Linked DNA regions of Homo sapiens: all the other regions are linked to region 3. Evidence: promoter capture Hi-C in 16 types of primary human blood cells and fetal thymus (Javierre and others, 2016). All regions are on one chromosome and are shown on one strand. Each heading gives the region's core, a stretch centred on a gene start or on the middle of the fragment in contact. The rest is flanking DNA. Distances are from core to core; before and after follow the strand shown.

Region 1 (3,052 bases), core at 18-2,517, 160 kb before region 3:
TGACTTCCTCCTTGTTCTTTAATCAGTTAAGTATTTACAGTGAAAATTGAAAATAACTTGGAGTGAGGGTAATTGACACAGTCATTACTTTTATAAGTCAGTCACTTTTTGTGCATTTGTTTTTATAAAATAGACTATGAGTGTTTACAGTATTTATAGTAATTGTTATTGAACTTTTACCAGCAGTAATCTCATTACTGGTTTAACTTGATAATCTTTTAAGAAGTATATGGATGATTTCCCTATCTGTTGTAGATGTTTTCTTGATACACAGTTAATGTCTTTTTCATGTCCTTTTGTTTTTTATTTTGTTATTTGTACATTTAACTTCAGATATGTATCATTTACTTTAAAAATTATTATTATTATTTTGGTACAAGAGACTAAGTGATAGAAACCTAAATGTATTTAAGTAATTTTTTTTAAAGCTATAGTCCATGCTAAAAACTTATTAGGGACCTTCGACTACAGAAGTGTTTTTCCTGATATGTAGTTAAACCCTTCACCCACTCTGCATCTTGATTTGCAGGCTGTTGTCAGAATATATTGCTACCTTAAGCTTGGATACTACCAGACAATTTCCAATTACTTTCACATACATTGTGTTAGCCGATTCTTTAAGGTAGATGGGTCTGCTCTCACCGTCACATTTCATAGGTAAAGAAGACAGACTTGGAAGGGTTCTTCAACTAATTAAATGGTGAAATCAACTTATCCCCAGGTGTGTCTGATTCCTAGTCCAGTGCTCATTTATACCACAGTCTCTCTGCTAGTGGTACTGAGCCCTTACTGGCCAATACGGTAGCACCATCTTCTTTCGTCAGCAGTGAACAGTCTGCACACTCCTTAGGTTTTTCTGCTAAATTGTAAACCACATTTACACATTCAGGATGTAACTACTATAGTTGTAAAGAATATTCTCTACAGTTTTGGGTAATAACCTTCAACCTTGAAACATTGTGTATGAGTTTTGCTTTTTAAAAACCTAAACATTTTTTTTTAATGTTGGCAAAAATCTACCTTTAAAAAATTTCTTGTTGGCCAGGCACGGTGGCTCACGCCTGTAGTCCCAGCACTTTGGGAAGCCAAGGTGAGTAGATCACCTGAGGTCGGGAGTTCAAGACCAGCCTGGCCAACATGGTGAAACCCTGTCTCTACTAAAAATACAAAAAATTGCTGGGCTTGGTGGTGCATGTCTGGAATCCCAGCTACTTGGGAGGCTGAGGTGGGGGAATTGCTTGAACCAGGGAGGCAGAGGTTGCAGTGAGCCTGGATTGGGCCATTGCACTCCAGGCTGGGCGACAAGAGCTAAACTCCATCTCAAAACAAACAAAAAATTGCTTGTCATCCAGCATCTGCTCTGTTTTTGTTTTGTTTTTTTTTTTTGAGACAGGGTCTTGCTCTGTCACCCAGACTCGAGTACAGTGGTGCGATCTCGGCTCACTGCAACCTCCATCTCCCATGTTCAAGCCATCCTCCCGCCTTGGCCTCCTGAGTAGCTGAGATTACTGGTGTATGCCACCATGCCTGGCTAATTTTTGTATTTTTTTTAGAGATGGAGTTTTGCCATGTTGCCCAGGCTGTTCTTGAACTCCTGAGCTCTAGCAGTTCATCTGCCTCGGCCTCCCAAAGTGCTGGGATTACAGGTATGAGCCACCGTACCCACCCAGCATCTGCTCTTAACCCAGGTTTTACGTCCTGTTGCCTTCTAAAACCCACATAACCGTTTCACAGAAACACCAGAAAAGTGCCAGAATTTCCTTGTGCATGAAAAAAAACAGGGACAGAAATACCTTTTCTTAATTACTTTATATCAGAAGAGAAGTGAATGAGAACATTAGGGTAATAAGTTTCTAGTTGAAAGATAAAATTTGAAATGAGTACTTAAGTATTACTGAAAAAGCAAATGAAGGAAGCAAATTGATAACTAGGAAAATAAAATCAGGCAGCAATGAAATGGCTTGAAGAAGCTTTGGTCTCTCTACATAGTCATTTGAATCATTTGAAAGTCAGAATCTTAAATTTGTTAATGTTACTTTTAATTATTTTGTAATTCCTTTGTTCTGCATGTATCTAATCACAAAGTCTCACTAATTATTCCTCTGCTATAATTAGACCCACCCTTCTCCTTGCATTCTACAGCTTTCACCCAGTCTTGGAACCTCTTTATTCACACTTGTTTTGCAATAGTCACTCATGTTCTCTGCCTCCCCGATTTAATCCGTTTTGTAAATATTGGAACAATCTTTTGTAGGCAGTATTTGTAATACCCATCTCCATACTCAAACATTTAGGGAGGTGAATCTTTTTTGTGTGTGGGTAATGGAGTCTCACTCTGTCCCCCAGGCTGGAGGGCAGTGGTACGATTTCAGCTCACTGCAGCCTCTGCCTCCTGTGTTAAACCTCCTGCCTCAGCCTCCCCGGCAGCTGGGATTACAGGCACACGCCACCACACCCAACTAATTTTTAGTAGAGACAGGGTTTCACCATGTTGGCCAGGCTGGTCTCAAACTCCTGGCCTCAAGTGATCCTCCCTCCTGGGCCTCCCAAAGTGTTGGGATTACAGGTGTGAGCCACTGTGTCCAGCCTAAGGAGGTGAATCTAAATATAACTGAACATTTAAAGCCTTTTCTCAGCTTTCCTTCCATCTTAAAACAACCTCATGAAGCCTCCCTATTTATAAGAGTAATAATGAGTTAACGGAATATTCAAGTTCTTCGATTCCATGCTTTTACAATTCTCAATAAGTATCCAGTGTTCTGCTGTTATTTGTCTTTTCCATAAGTCCTTCACCTGCCATAAAGTGGGTTTATTCTTTGTCCAGTCTTCAGTCATCTGGTGTCCCTTTCACATCCTTATGAGATCTGGAATTCTTTTCCTTATTCTGCATTATTTTTTCTTACAGACCTTGTGACTACCTGGCATCCATCCAGTCTAGCAAGGGCTTTCTTTACTAGATTATAAGCTTCATGAAGGCAAGCTTCTCTGGCATGTTTACTTCTCTGTCCCTAGTTCCTAGAACAGTGCCTGACATGTAATAGTTTTTGGACAT
Region 2 (3,053 bases), core at 387-2,886, 210 kb before region 3:
CTAGGTTTGAATCTCATCTTTGCTGCCTACCAGCTATATGAACTTGGGCAGGTTACTTCACCTCTGCATCAGTAGAATCGAGTAATAGTGATAGTACCTACCCAGTAAGATTGTCATGAGACTTAACCTAGTTAATTACTACAAAGTGCTTAGAACAGTGCCTGGCACACAAGACATGCTATGTAAGGCTGGGTACGGTGGCTCATGCCTGTTATTGCAGCACTTTGGGAGGCTGAGGCGGGTGGGTCACTTGAGGTCAAGTGTTCAAGACCAGCCTGGCCAACATGGTGAAACCCCGTCTCTACTAAAAATACAAAAATTAGCCGGGATTGGTGGTGCACACCTGTAATCCCAGCTACTCAGGAGGCTGAGGCAGGAGAATCGCTTGAACCCAGGAGGCGAAGGTTGCAGTGAGCCAAGATCATGCCACTGCACTCCAGCCTGGGTGACAAAGCTAGACTCTGTCTCAAAAAAACAAACAAAAAAAGAAATGCTATGTAATATTTGCTTTCATTGTTATTATATTATGTTTCATTCCAAGAAATGTAGTTGAAATATTACATGTTTTAGTAGCTAAAGTGGATATAATTTGTTGAGATGAATTGTTCCTTCATATTCGTAGCTATTTTCTTATTTATGTTTTTTTGAGACGAAGTCTCGTTCTGTCACCAGGCTGGAGTGCAGTGGCATGATCTTGGCTCACTGCAACCTCCGCCTCCCGGGTTCAAGCGATTCTCCTGCCTCAGCCTCCCGAGTAGCTGGGACTACCCGCGCATGTCACCACGCCCAGCTACTTTGTGTATCTTTAGTAGAGATGGGGTTTCACCATGTTGGCCAGGATGGTCTGCATCTCTTGACCTCATGATCTGCTTGCCTCGGCCTCCCAAAGTGCTGGGATTACAGGCGTGAGCCACCACACCCGGCCTGCTATTTTTTATTTAGTAACTTGAAATGGACATAATGTGGTTATAGCTGTCCATGCACATTGTCTTAATGGGATCTGTTTTACTTAGTTCTGTAACTAGGCTGTTAGCATTATAGAATGTTAGCTTTAGGGAGAACCTCATAAAGGATATGCCAAATGAATTGGGAATATTCAACAGTGAGGCTCAATCAGGGAAATGTCTTTAGAGAAGGTGAGATTTGTGCTGGGCTTCAAGAGAAGGATGAGAAGATGAGTTGGCTTAAGCACAGGTACAATACATGAATGTGAAAGTAAGGACAGATACACAGATGTATATGGATGTGAAAGTCATTCACATGGATATGAGTATTTAAGATTTACAGAGCAAATGAATGTGAATAGAATATATATGAATGGTGTATTTGAGAACATGTAGTGGCAGATAGCCCTCAAGAAGCTGTTCAGAGCCAAAATCAAGCACAAAAATTTTTTATAGAGTTGGAATTTTATAATGCAGTAGAGAGAGGAGGGGAGAGGGAATTATGTGTTACCAGGAAAGCATCATAGCTTAGTCAAGTTAGATCAGAGTAAACCAAATCTTGAAGATGCTGAGACTGTTTCAGTTGTTCTGGTTATCTAGTGTAGAGTTAATCAGGGCCTGAACTGTGGTTCTTCTGGAGGTGTAAAAAAAAAAAAAGATCAGGGGAATTTTTTTTTTTTTTTAATGTGACTGGCTGTATTTGAGTTTGGAGGTGTTCAGTCCAATACTTGTTTCCCTTTGGTAAGTGCAGGTATTGCTTAAAAAGAATTTAATACCCTATCTTCCAGACATTCTAGAAGACCAGTAATCTATATGTAGGACCCATTGTTACAAAATGCATTATATTTTAACAAGAGTTACGGCGCTCTAACTTAAGGAAAAAAAATTAAAACAGTAGACCCCCTCTCTTGAAAAAAAAATTTTTTTTTTCTTTGAGACAGGATCTGGTTCTGTTGCTGAGGCTGGAGTAAGAGAGACCGGGGCTTGCTCTGTCACCTAGGCTGGGTGCAGTGGTATGATCGTAGCTCACTGCAGCCTCTAACTCCTGGCTCAAGCGGTCCTCCCTTCAGCCTCCTGAGCAGCTGGGATTACAGATGTGCACCACCACGCCTGGCTAATATTTTTATTCTTAAATATTTTGTAGAGATGGGCTCTTGCTCTGTTGACCAGGTTGGTCTTGAACTCTTGGTCTAAAGCGATCCTCCTAAGCCTCCCAAAGTGCTGGGATTACAGGCATGAGCCACCACACCTGGCCTCTTTTTGAAATCTTAAACAGAAGCCAGATATATATTATAGATAAAAATGGAGTGTCTCTATTTTCAGGGGCATGGAAGAAACTGCCTACTCATCCTTTAATTTTCACTTCCTCCCTCATTCAGTTCATTTTAACTTTAAAAGTCTATGGAAAACAAGATGCAGAGCAGTGCTCTAGGCAGAGTTTATGCATATATCCAAGTAGGTTTTTTGTGTCTTATTAGCGACTGATTTATCATTTTCTTAAGATGGAAATTAAGCAATTCTAGTGGTAAGGTGTTAATAATTTCACTCTTTTTATGTAGACGAGAGGTTGAGCCTTGAAGGATGAGAGGTGTTTACCGTCTTAGGATGGGGTATAGTAGATAGAACCATATGAACCGAAGAGCTGAGGAATGTGAGCATGTAACACCTGACGTGTACAGTAGTAGGTATGAAGTCATATGGGAGCAGTATTTTTTTTTCTATTTTGTTCACTGATTTTTCTCCACTGGTACTTAATAGGCACTCAATAAATATTTTGCTAAATAAATGAACTGGTGATGTTGAAATCCAGTTAGTTTACATTTTGGTTGGTTTTGGTATTGTCTTTTAAAGGTAGCAAAGACCAAGTAATTAAATTTGTTAGATGAATATGAGATAAAATGGGTTCACTTTTCAATGAGGAGCAAAAATTTATAGACTTCCTTGAGCCAGGTAATAACTAAAACACAAAGTTTTTGGTGTTTTTAGAAAATAATATTGATTAGATTTTATGTTGCTAAAGTTTTCAAGTCAAGGTCATGATGAAACAAAATCTTAGAATGATTTATGTATTCATTTAGAAAGTTTCATTGAAAACATTCATATAATTGT
Region 3 (3,131 bases), core at 565-3,064:
AGAGAGGGGCAGGAAGGGGATAACCAAGGCAGGTGCAATCAACAATAAAAGTGAAGTACCAAAAGCATCTGAGGTCACGCTACTCCCCTGCCTAAAATCATTCGCCAACAGCCATCACCAACAGGACACAGCCTGCTTCCCTCAGCAAGGCAGGTACAGCCACTCCTCCAACATCTGCCCACCTACCTCCTTAGCTTCATCTCTGCCTCATTGTCCCAAATCCTGTGCAATAGCCGTGACATATGACAGGCATCTCCATGTCTCTGCCTGCCTCTCTGTGCCCAGTCTTCTGTCACCCCTTCAATCTGACCTAATTTGTAGCCCTCCTTCAAGACCTACCTTGGTCACATTTGTATTTTTTATTGTCCCCCTCCTTCAGCGTAGTGACTCTACAACACTTTGTCAACCTATTATAACACTTACCCTAAAATGAAATTATTTACAAATTTGTTTCTTCAAAGGCAAGACCAGTGGCTTATTCCTCTTTTGCATGTGGCATGCTCACCCAGCACAGGGACACACCAGGCTCTCAAAGGCTGAAGGAAGCCAGAATACACATCTCTGCACAGTGCCAGGACTCTTGGGCCAGGCTAGCAGCCTGCACTGGGCACTAACTGAAGCCCTTGGGGATAAGTATTTGTAAGTTTGGGAGAAGGAAGACCTTTGGAAGAACCAAAGGCAGACCTGGGCCACCCTCAGTTAAATGGACAACACTAGTCCAGGAAATGATAAGGAAAAAGGCTTTAAGGTTCATCTCCTTCAGAGGTTTGCCTGGGCTGGCCCCATCATGGGTAACTTGTAAAAAATAGGTCGTGATACAATTTTTAAATTATTTTATTTATTTTTTTGAGACAGAGTCTTGCTCTGTCACCCAGGATGGGGTGCAGTGGTGCGATCTTGGCTCACGGCAGCCTCCACCTCTCGGGTTAAAGCGATTCTCCTGCCTCAGCTTCCTAAGTAGTTGGGACTACGGGCGCTCGCCACCACACCCAGCTAATTTTTCTTTTTTCTTTTCTAATTAGAACAGAGTTTTGCTATGTTGGCCGGGCTGGTCCCGAACTCCTGACCTCGGGTTATCCACCTGCCTCGGCCTCCCATAATGCTGGGATTACAGGTGTGAGCCACCGCGCCCGACCACAATATTGTATTTACTGTATTGCATTGTCTGCCTCCCTGCCACACAGCGTCTTCCAGGAGCTTACCAGTCCTCTGTGCATACCCCAGTAAGTAGCTCAGGCAGTGCATGACGCCCTCACCTTTCTCTAGGTATTATTGTATTTTAAAGCATCACTTCATTTAGTCCTCTCAACAACTTTTTTCCCCCCTTCTTCTATTTCACATGTGAGGAAATTGACGTCCCGAGGGTTAAAGCAAGTTACCCCATGACCGGGCTCCATACCCTCCGCGCCCCTTTCCCTGCGCGGTGGCTGTCCCTTCTCGGAGTGCAGAGGCTCCTAGTGCTCCACACTCTCGGGCTCCAAGGCCCCCTAACGCGCCGTGATAAAAATAATAATAACAATAACAACAGTGCTGCTTTATTTGCACAGAAAACAGGTTGTTTCGGGGCAAGGTACACTTGAGAAGGAGGCTAGGAACCGGAGAGAAGCAGCAGGCGGGGGCGGAGGGCGAAGGGAGGGAAGGGGAGAGGGCAGGGGCTGGCAGGCGCTGTGTGCCGGGCGAGGAGGCCGGGGCGGGCCGGGGCGGGGAGCGGGCGAAGCGCCATTGGCCCGAGCACCCGGGACCGGCCCCACCGCACCGCCCGCCGGGGGCGGGGGTAGCGGGGAGGGACTCGCGCACGCCGCTCTGCGTTGACAGTGCCGGGCGACACCCGGGCCGTGCCGCCAGCGTCCGTCGGGAGAGTGAAGGCTCGCAACGCCTTGCCCGGGGGAAGGTAACGCGCCGCGCCCGGGGCTGCGCGGTTTGCACCGCCAGGCCGAGGGCTGGGGGCCAGAAGACAAGAGAGACGGCGAGGCGCGCTCCCTGCCCGGCAGCGACTCGGAGGTGCGCACTCGGGTTCCAGTCTCTACTTGGCCCACTCGCTGTGTTACCTCGGGCAACTTTGTTTCCCTCTCTTGGTCTCTGCTTCCTCCTCTGTTAAGTGAGGGAGGTGGTGTAGAATGTTGTTCCTTAGTCTAACCAGTTCTAAAATGGGAACTGCGTTTTGGCACGGGGAAAGCTCCTTTCCTCAGTTTCCCACCTACTCCAGAGCCACCTCCGCTGCCCAGGCGGCCAGGAAGCTGGGATGCCCGGGTAGGCGAGGGTTCTGCTGAGCTATCGCGTTTTCTAGGGCTTTCAGGGACTGACCTGGGCTTGGGGCTGGGTGCTGGGGAGACCTGGCTGCAGAGTAACTGCCCCCAGATTGCTCAGGTGCAGAAAGGTAGGAGCGTCAGCACCTGTTTACAGGTGGGGTGTTGGGAAGGGCCGGCCAGGGGATGATGATTTCTCCTTTGAAAATAAGACGTGTTTTGGAATTCTCTTCCATACCCACACCTCGTCCCACGGCGAGCTATAAACTACACGAGTGGGCTTTATCATCCTTTGAAGTGGAAAAGCGACTGTTTTTAGCGTCTAAGACACAGGGCTCCACCAGCATATAGGAAGTGGGTCTCTCTTTCTCTGCACCCATCCTGCCGCGTCTTCCCTTTCTTTCCTCCTCTCTTTATAAATCCCCTTTGACCTTGAGGGGCTCCACTTCCTGCCTTAATGAAAAGTTCTTCTTTTCATTTAGTGCTGGTTTGTGACCAGCAGCCTCCAGGGCTTTGGGCGCAGGGTTGAGATAGAAGCCTAGATAAGAACAGGCTATGAATCACCCTGTCAGCCCCCTGAGCCACACAGCCCGGCAGGGATGTGCAGAGGAAGCCCGGTGGGGCTTCAGACAGATAGACCCTGGAAGGTGGGGTGGATGCAAACTGCCATCCAGCTTCCCGTCCCCTTGTTGGCAGCCATTCCCCACCAGGATGGTGACCCCTGCTGTCTGCTGGATGGAGCAGCCAGATAGAGTAGGATGATTGAAAGGAGCTGAGGACTTGGCTGGATTTCTATGGAAGGTCTCCAGCATTTCCCTTCCCTCACTTTCCTCCACCCCTGAAGTTCTGCCCCTTCTCACCCTTAGTGTGGTATCCAGGTGAAAT
Region 4 (3,053 bases), core at 50-2,549, 190 kb before region 3:
CTAGAGTTTTGATTCAGTAGGTGGGGCCTGGGGCCCAAGAATTTTTGTTTTTAAGATGCTCCCAGGTGACTAGGTTTTAGCACAGTGCATTATTAGCACATGTTAAATGTTCCATAGAGAGTGGTGAGTTTTTTCCTTTCACTTTGTTGTTGCTGTTTATTAACTCACCCTTAAAAGCTCATCTGCCTGCCTACTGACTCCTAATAGCTGAGCCTAATAGCTCAGTGTAAGTTTTACTACGTGAACTGCTTGCTGTATGCATGCTCAGTTGCTACCTGCTCCCTGAAATCTTAGTAGGTGTTTGTTGAATTTAGTTCTTTTTTTTCTTTCAGCTTTATGATTTGTTTGCTCATGTATGCTACCTTCTTTAATCCCCAGTTAAGTAACATTGACCCCATTAAGGGGCAAGTTCTCAACATGGAGATCTTGAAAAGAAGTCTGTCCTAGGAGAAAGAAGTGAAAAGAATGTTCATTGTTCGAGGCTGAAACAAATTATTGGATAAAGAACTAATTTCACTATGTTTTATGTCACATACTAAAAATTTTCACCTTTTTAATAGTAATTAAGGGCAAATCTTACAGCCCATTTACAGAATTATTATTGTATATTCTATATGTTCCCCAAAGCACTAAATGCGTTTATATCTACTATCTACACAACTATTGTACATCTAAAAGACATGTCTTCAAAACTTTTTTATAAAAATACAGTTAGAAGGAATAAGTTCTAGTGTTTGATAGCACAGTAGAATTACTAATTAAAAACAATTGTATTACCTATATCAAAGTAGCTAGAAGATTTAGAATGTTCTCAACACAGAGAAATGATGAATGTTTGAGGTGTGATAGATGTCCTGATAATTACATGGTATGCATGTATCACAATATCATATGTATCCCATAAATATGTACAATTATTGTATATCCATTTAAAAAGAAAAACATTCTATTTTGGAGAATATATAAGTTAAAAATTAGGAGCTGGGTGTGGTGGCGTGTGCCTGTTGTCCCAGCTACTCAGGAGGTTGAGGCAGGAGGAAGGCCTGAGCCCAGCCGTACAAGCTAGCCTGGGCAACATCTCTTGGTCTGTTTGTCTGTTTCTCTCTCAATCTCTCTCTCTCTTTTGAGACAGTGACTTACTCTGTCACCCAGGCTGGAGTGCAGTGGCACAGCCATGGCTCACTGCAGCCTCAACCTCCTGGGCTCAAGCATTCCCTCTGCCTTAGCTTCCCGAGTAGCTGGGACTACAGGCGCACTCCGCAATGCCCAACTATTTTTCGTATTTTTTCGCCATTTTGCCCAAGCTGATCTTGAACTTTTGAACTCAAGCAGTCCGCACGCCTCAGCCTCCCAAAGTGCTGGGATTACAGGCATGAGCCACTACACCCAGCCTCCAGACCCCTTCTCTTAAAAAAATTATCTGTACTGTGTTTGAATTCTTAGACACTCTGGGGTCATGTTTTGAGTTGTTCATTAAAATCACATAGAAGTCGGCCGGGCATGGTGGCTCATGCCTGTAATCCCAGCATTTTGGGAGGCTGAGGTGGGCGCATCATGAGGTCAGGAGATCGAGACCATCCTGGCTAACACGGTGAAAGCCCATCTCTACTAAAAATATAAAAAATTAGCCGGGCGTGGTGGCAGGCGCCTGTAGTCCCAGCTACTTGGCAGGCTGAGGTAGAAGAATGGCATGAACCCGGGAGGCGGAGCTTGCAGTGAGCCAGGATCGCTCCACTGCACTCCAGCCTGGGCGACGGAGCGAGACTCTGTCTCAAATAAAAAAAATTACATAGAAGTCTTGAGGTAGAAATATATCATGTAAGCCAGGCATGGTGCCTCCCGCCTGTAATCCCAGCACTTTGGGAGGCTCAGGTGGGTGGATCATCTGAGGTCAGGAGTTCGAGGCCAGCCTGGGCAGTGTGGTGAAACCCTGTCTCTACTAAAGGACAAAAATTAGCCAAGCATGGTGGCATGCACCTTTAATCCCAGCTTCTTGGGAGGCTAAGGCATGCCAGTCACTGGAACCCAGGAGGTGGAGGTTGCATTGAGCCAAGATCACATCACTGCACTCCAGCCTGGACAACAGAGTGAGACTCTTGTCTCAAAAAAAGCAAAACAACAACAAAAAAAGAGGCTGAGCACAGTGGCTCACGCCTGTAATCCCAGCACTCTGGGAGGCCGAGGCAGGCGTATCACCTGAGGTCAAGAGTTTGAGACCAGGCTGGCCAACATGGTGAAACCCTGTCTCTATTAAAAATACAAAAATTAGCCGGATGCGGTGCTGCGCACCTGTAGTCCCAGCTGCTTGGGAGGCTAAGGCAGGAGAATCATTTGAACCTGGGAGGCAGAGGTTACAGTGAGCCAAGATCACGCCGCTGCACTCCATCCTGGGCGACAGAGCGAGACTCTGTCTCAAAAAAAAGAAGAAAGAAATATATCATGTAAATAGTGTGTTGTGTGATGGGGTGGCTCTATTCATAAATGCATGTAAAATTTTTTCCCTGTATCATTGATACATAGTTTGGACACTGAGGCACTAGAAGTGAGGTTAATGAGTATTTTACTGTGTAGTGTATTGCAAATGTGATTCAAGTTCTGTGAATATTAAAAGTAAGAAAAGAGTTTTATTAAAAATATTAAAATTGCTGTGATATTTTGTATTTTAGAATCTTGTTGTTTAGGTTCATTTTAATAGGGAAATTAGTTTTTTCTAGGGGAAGACATTCATCCTTTTCAGAAGAGCTACTGTTCTTTGAATCTTATATAAACTTAAGATATGATATTAGATTATTTTTCCAAGCCTCCTTAGAAATATGCTGTCATATGAAGAAACTGTTCCTCTTTTGAGATTTATATTAATGAGACTTTTCTCCCTTGTTTTTAATGTTTTTATCTGTGGTGGGTGGAGAAGGTGACACTAAAGTAGCAAAGTTTTTCTGGTAAATAAAACACGTTTCCAAAATATCTTTCTAGCACATCAAAGCTGCCCAATGATCTGCTTGATTTGCAGCAGCCAACTTTTCACCCATCTGTACATCCTATGTCAACTGCTT
Region 5 (3,170 bases), core at 631-3,130, 170 kb after region 3:
CTCTTTTTGGAAACAGGAAATAAAGAACAATTTGTCAAAGCATATTTTTCTGTCACTAAAAATACATGCCATTCTTTTGATTTTAAAAGTTTTGAGAAATGCCGAAAGAGAAAAGATAATTTAGTTTCTTATAGCTTGTCTGAACTCTCTAACAACAGAATATTGGCACATAAAATAGTTAATAAAAGAAAATGGAATTTGACCACTTGTCACTACCTTTATTGCTACTACTTATTATCTCTTACCTAGACTGTCTATAAAATCCTGTGTCACACAGAAAAATTGCTGGGATATGGCTTTGACTTAAATGCTGCATGAATCTGCTGAAAATAGTTGATCCAGGAAGATTCCATACTTTTCAAAGATAATAATCAAAAAATAAAAGAGGGACTTCTAGCTTCTGGAAGTGACACAGTAGCTTATGTTGGACAGACCCTGTTGCAAATAACAACTATAAACTCTGGACAAGGAAGAGATTCTTTTCAAAGACCCTGGAAAGCAACCAAAATAGCATGAAAACACAGGAAGGTATACAATTCTTGAAAGATGGGAAAAATAGTGGGTAAGATCCACATTTATCCAGCTTTTTTTCATGAGGGCATTAGTCTGTGCAGTACATGGGGAATATCGAGTGTCAGTATAAAGCAGCATTCTTCCCATTCTAAAACACTCAGAAGTTGAAATTTGGAAATGCCAGATCAACTGAAAATTGGGGCAGGAACCTTGAAAAGGGAACCCCAAAATCTGTCTAAAAAATCCCCTCAAATTTTTGGCTGACATTATAACAGTACATGCATGTGGTAAGACCCAAAGAACCCAATGGACAGCAACAGTTGGAAGACTGGAAGAGATAAAGTGAAATTTCAGCAGTCATCTGATGCTGGGAAGACAGTGTATTTTTGAATATTTAAATTCAAATATCGGAAATTTAAATATTTCCAAGTTATACAGACCGGGTGAAAACTTTGGACATTCCACTGAGCAGCATCTTAGAATTAATGACTACATCCAATGACTAAGGGTTATGCCCTAGAATCAAGGGCAAAATCAACCAAATCAATATTTTTTTAAAAAAATCAAATTAAGCAAAAAGGAAATCAAAGAGGAAGGAATAATAAAGGTAAGAGTGGAAATAAATGAAAGGGAAAAGACAAAAACAATAGAGAAAAGACCAACTGTGATTCTTTGAAAATATTAATAAAATCAATAAGCCCTAATAAGACTAATCAAAAGAAAAAGAGACCAAACAACTAAATCTTTTTGGACTGAAAGAAGGGACATTAATACAGATTCTACACACATTAACAGGATAAGGAGAGGATATTATGAACAACTTTAACCCACTGTGTTCGACAATTTAGACAAAATGGACAAATTGCTTGGTCTTATTGTTAATTGCTTATCTGGAGAGTTACAATTTATTTTTTCTTTTACATTTTATAACCTACAACCTTGCTAAATCAAATAGGATTTTAAAAATTACATAGATAATTTTATTTCTTCTTTTCCAATCTGGCTAGACTCTCCCATACAATGTTGGCTAGAAGCAATAAAGCAGACATTCTTGCATTTTCCCTGATCTTAGGGGGAAGTCATTCAGTTTCCCACCATCATCATGTTAATTATAGGTTTTTTGGTAAATGCTCTTCAAAATCTTAAGGAAGTTCCCTTCTTTTCCTCATGCTGGGAGTTTTTATCAGGAACAGATGTTGGATTTTGTCAAATGCTTTTTCTGTATCTATTCAGATGATTGTTTTTTTTCCTTGTTTAGTCTGTTGATACAGTGAATTATATTGTGTAGGGGCTCCACGTTCCCCAGCCATCTTTCCGTGTCCTGACCAAAAATCACAGAGCGCCTTGACTGCTTTGTGACCTGGCCAGCTGCAGATTTTTCTTAGCAGGCTTGAATCCAAACCGAGACCTGAAACATTTCCAGGCACTGATAAAGGTATCTAGGTTGTTGCCCAAAACACTAAAATAAACTGGCCCTGGCCCTGAGCCAAATTCCTAAGCCCTCATATAAACTCCATATCCTAATCCCCTTGTTGTGAACTGCTAGCCTTTTCTCTTGCTGTTTGTGGTGAGGATTGCTGCAGTTCAGTCATATAAAATTTCCCCTAATAAATGCTTTGGACTGATGACCCTGGTGTTTAGTGCTTCTTTCTTTGAATCCCAACCAGCCCAGTCTCAGGATAACTCTGGACACTCCCTTGTGGAAACTCCCCTGCTGTCACTTTTGGGGTGACTCCTGCTGTGGGTTTGGTGGAACAAAACATTGAGTGATTTTTTTAAATGTTAAGTCAATTTTGCAATCCTGGAATAAGCCCCGCTTGGCCATGAGGTACTATTCTTTATATATATTTTTGTATTTGGTTTGCTAAAAGTTTGTCAAAAGTTTTTATATCAATGTTCATGAGGAGTATTAGGCTGTAGTTTCTTTCCTCAAAATGTTTTTATCTGGCTTTGATATCAGGATATTGCTGGACTTATTGAATGAGTTGGCAAGTGTTCCCATCTCTTCAATTTTTTTGGAGAGTTTGCATCATATTATTATTTCTTCCTTACATGTTTGGTAGACTTTACCAGTGAAGATTTCTGGATCTGAGTTTTCCTTGTAGGGAGGATTTAACTATAAATTCAATACTCATGGTAGATATATGGCTACCCTGATTATCTATTTCTTTTTGAGTGAACTTCACAAATCTTCACAAAACAAGATCAAATATTCATTTATTCATTTCACCTAAGTTCTCAAGTTTATTGGCTGAAATTGTTCAAAAATATTTTCTTGTTATATTTTAACATCTGTAGAATCTGTGGTGAAACATCTCTCTTGATATTGGTCACTTATGTCTTCCCTTCTTTATGCTAATTGTTTATTATTTTTGAAAATCTCAAATAACCACCTTTTGGTTTTATTGGTTCTTTTCTATTGGTTTCTGTTTTCTATTTCTTCCCCCCTCTGTTCTATATTGTTTCTTTCTTATTCTTATCTAGGATTTAAGTTGCTCCTCTTTTTCTCGTTTCTTAAAAACATACCTGAGGTAATTGATTTGAGATCTTTTTCCCCTCTAACATATGTGCTTATCATTACAAATTTCCAAGTGCTGCTTTAACTGTATCCATAGATTTTTAAATGTTCTGTATTATTTTAATTCAGTTCAAAAGAA
Region 6 (2,993 bases), core at 195-2,694, 230 kb before region 3:
AAGGATCTATGGTAACACTTCCCAGTTGATGAAGAAATTGGGCATTAGATAATGAAGGTTTTGCAGCAGTAATTGAGTTTGAGCTATTTTCATGACAGTGTATTGGAAAGGTGATAGAGGAGTTGTCTCCTAAAATGAGGGAAAACATCAATACAAAATGATGGTAAGAAAGAAATGAAAATATTTGTAATGATGCTTTAAAGCTTTAGGGTACTTTTAAAATACCCTAAATATATCACCTTACTAAGCCAAGATGTTGTGAAAATTAAGTATTAGTCCTATTTTTTAAATGTTGAAATGGAAACTGAGTGACTAATTAACATGCCTGAAATCACAATGGTGAATCATGAATCTCGAATTTGATTCTAGATTTTTTTTGCTCATTCTGATGTGTTGGTTAGTCTTGTTATAGTACAGTTGTAGCACATGGAAATGGATGGGACCATGCATGGAAGCCAGAGAGTCTAGAGCAGAACTTCAGTGATGGCAAATTAAAATCTTCATTATCAGTATTTGAAGCAGATATTGAAAATGAATAGCTCTTAGGACAGACTATCAAATAAATGTGAGCCAGAAGATTTTTAATGGGAGAAATTAACTTTAATGAAATATCTTGTAGAAAGAGTTAAAAACAAGATACCTGCCAATCCCAGTCACTCTGGAGAGTATCTAATGTAGCAATGAAAGTAAAAACTAGTTAACATTCTCCAGTGTTTGTCAAGTTTAGGAAGAGATTAACTTGAAAAGCTGTGGTTGGGTAGAAGGTTTATTTGAAGATCGTTTGGCATCATAGCAAAAAAAAGTTGGTGAAAGATTGGTACTGTAGAATGATGGGAGAAAGATGATTAAATTTCCCTTCCTACTTGTCTAGACCACTTAAAATGTATATTACTTTCTCACACAAGCCAGGATAAAGATACACTCTTTAAGAAATTTAGGAGACTCTTCATATATCCATTCATAGATAGAATGTGGTTTTGAAAATAAATGGGATATTGTATAAATATAGATCTATATAAAATTTTATAATTCCTTTTAAGAAAGACATTTGTCAGGAAGTAAAATTGTCAGACTTTTTAGTGCTGAGAAATAGGAAATAGGTGAATGTGGGTTATATGGAGTCTTTTTTTTTTTTTTTTTTTTTTTTTTGAATTTCAAGACAGGGTCTCACTATGTTGCCTAGGCTGGAGTTCAGTGGCTATTCACAGTTGTCATCATTGCATACTACAGCCTCAAACTCTTGGGCTGAAGTGATCCACCCACCTCAACCTCCTGAGTGGCTGGGACTACAGGTGCATACCACTGTACCCTTCTAGGAATCTTATAAGAACAGGTGTATGGTTATGAGGTGTATGAGGATAGAGATATTTTTTGTCCTGGTGATTATTTCTTCTTGTAGAATAATCCTGGTGATTTTTCCTTCTTGTAGAAACTTAAAGGCGTAATATTAAACTTATTAGGAAAAATAACTCTGGCTTTATTTTGTAGTGATTTATTAATGGCTTTATTTTATAGTGATATATTAATAATGTATTAAAATTGCTCATATTTTCCACTTAGAGAGTATTATTTCAAAATTTAAAGCCATGTAGATAGGTTATTATTTGGTGCTACATCCGCCATTACTGCAGTTGGTTTCCAGCAGTTTGAAAAATGATTTTTCAGAAATGGCTTTCACTTGTTACTCAGTGGCTTACAGCAACGGTCCCCAACCTTTTTGGCACCAAGGAGTGGTTTCATGGAAGACAGTTTTTCCACAGACTGGCAGGGGGTGTGTGGAGGGATGGTTTCGGGATGAAACTGTTCCACCTCGATCATAGGCATTAGATTCTCATAAGGAGTGCACAGCCTAGATCCCTTGCATGTGCAGTTCACAATAGGGGTCGCGCTCCTATGAGAATCTAATGCCCCTGCTGATCTGATAGGAGGCAGAGCTCAGGCAGTAATGCTTCCTAGCTCACCAGCTACTGTGTGGCCCAGTTCCTAACAGGTCATGAGCCAGTAATGGTCCACGGCCTGGGGGTTGGGAACCCCTGGCTTACAGGGTCTTCACATGCTTACTAGCTACAGTTACGTCACTTAATCGTGTAATAAATGGCTCGTGTAATTTTGAGTCACTTAAAGTGATCAGATTGTTTTAATTGTGAAGCATGTGAATAAATAAATGAGATTTCCACCGTCTGGTACTATATACGTAAAACTAGAGGCTTTGCAAAATTACCAAGAGACGATCCCGTTTGATGTGTCTTTGGTTTGGCACAGGTGGAGCAGACATGTGAGATATAGAATGAATGGGAGGCCTTCACACTTACTCACTATGTGGAAGGTGGTAGTTGATCATGATGGTCAGTTCCATAGGCCTCCAGGCCACTGGTGACACACTACCACTGTTGCCATAATTCTTAAAAGTCATTTTATGTGGGGCTCCTTCCTAGCAACCTCCCTCAAACACATAGCTCCATCCCTTCCAAGAGCTAAGAAATTTTTAGCACTTGCCACCATCTATTTGTTCATTTGTTTACTGATTACATTCCTCCCATTAGTATATAAGCTCCGTGATAATAGAAACTTTGTCCACTATTGTATATTTCTAACTCCTAAGACACTATTGGCGTATTATAGTATGCAGTTAATACTAGAATAAATGGGATTTCTGTTTGTTCTTACTGAGGTTTGCAAAGCTTCATGAAAGTGGAATATAAAGATTCTCGTTGTTCTGTGTGCATTGGGGACATGGAACGGAACTTGTGTTTTCTGAGTGAGGGAGCCTCTGGCAGAGAGTCTAACTGCAATCCATTATTCCCTGTGACTGGGCAGAATTTAAAAATTTTTAAGAGAAGAGATGAAAAATCTTCTGGATTCCTACTTAATTTAGACATGGGTTTGGCTCTTAACGAAAAACTTTAACCTACCTACAGGGAAGGCTTTTTCGCTGTTACCCTTACTTCTGTCTCCTGGATCTTATGAGTGGAGAAATGAGCCTTTGTTTCACT

The links. The method cuts DNA at HindIII sites, captures the fragments that hold promoters and counts their contacts. A CHiCAGO score of 5 or more calls a contact.
Region 1: a fragment that was not itself captured here is called in contact with the fragment with the promoter of SYTL2 in region 3 in 5 of 17 cell types (naive CD4 T cells, naive CD8 T cells, total CD8 T cells and 2 more); the score reaches 7.7 in naive CD4 T cells.
Region 2: a contact is called between a fragment that was not itself captured here and the fragment with the promoter of SYTL2 in region 3, in 1 of 17 cell types (activated CD4 T cells). The highest score is 5.1, in activated CD4 T cells.
Region 4: a fragment that was not itself captured here is called in contact with the fragment with the promoter of SYTL2 in region 3 in 3 of 17 cell types (naive CD4 T cells, total CD4 T cells and non-activated CD4 T cells); the score reaches 5.8 in naive CD4 T cells.
Region 5: a contact is called between a fragment that was not itself captured here and the fragment with the promoter of SYTL2 in region 3, in 6 of 17 cell types (naive CD8 T cells, naive CD4 T cells, total CD8 T cells and 3 more). The highest score is 10.3, in naive CD8 T cells.
Region 6: a fragment that was not itself captured here is called in contact with the fragment with the promoter of SYTL2 in region 3 in 1 of 17 cell types (total CD8 T cells); the score reaches 5.2 in total CD8 T cells.

The regions. Positions count from the first base shown.
Region 1 is chr11:85,970,070-85,973,121 of GRCh38, reverse strand. The region is part of intron 19 of PICALM (phosphatidylinositol binding clathrin assembly protein); the gene reads left to right. Among named protein-coding and RNA genes, the nearest start is that of PICALM, 97 kb to the left of the region's middle. The HindIII fragment of the contact is 1,411 bases long and covers 562-1,972 here.
Region 2 is chr11:86,022,992-86,026,044 of GRCh38, reverse strand. The region is part of intron 3 of PICALM (phosphatidylinositol binding clathrin assembly protein); the gene reads left to right. Among named protein-coding and RNA genes, the nearest start is that of PICALM, 45 kb to the left of the region's middle. The HindIII fragment of the contact is 4,109 bases long and covers 1-3,053 here.
Region 3 is chr11:85,809,824-85,812,954 of GRCh38, reverse strand. It overlaps SYTL2 (synaptotagmin like 2), which reads left to right and starts at 1,814. Exons shown (of 20, transcript NM_206927.4): 1 at 1,814-2,001. RefSeq lists a silencer at 1,676-1,855. The HindIII fragment of the contact is 7,624 bases long and covers 1-3,131 here.
Region 4 is chr11:85,996,850-85,999,902 of GRCh38, reverse strand. It overlaps PICALM (phosphatidylinositol binding clathrin assembly protein), which reads left to right. Exons shown (of 20, transcript NM_007166.4): 12 at 2,974-3,053. Among named protein-coding and RNA genes, the nearest start is that of PICALM, 71 kb to the left of the region's middle. The HindIII fragment of the contact is 4,873 bases long and covers 1-3,053 here.
Region 5 is chr11:85,642,281-85,645,450 of GRCh38, reverse strand. No RefSeq gene overlaps it. Among named protein-coding and RNA genes, the nearest start is that of TMEM126A, 4.1 kb to the left of the region's middle. The HindIII fragment of the contact is 8,633 bases long and covers 1-3,170 here.
Region 6 is chr11:86,043,676-86,046,668 of GRCh38, reverse strand. All of the region lies in intron 1 of PICALM (phosphatidylinositol binding clathrin assembly protein), which reads left to right. It overlaps LOC124902730 (a long non-coding RNA gene), which reads left to right. Exons shown (of 2, transcript XR_007062822.1): 1 at 1-2,993. Among named protein-coding and RNA genes, the nearest start is that of PICALM, 24 kb to the left of the region's middle. The HindIII fragment of the contact is 2,478 bases long and covers 206-2,683 here.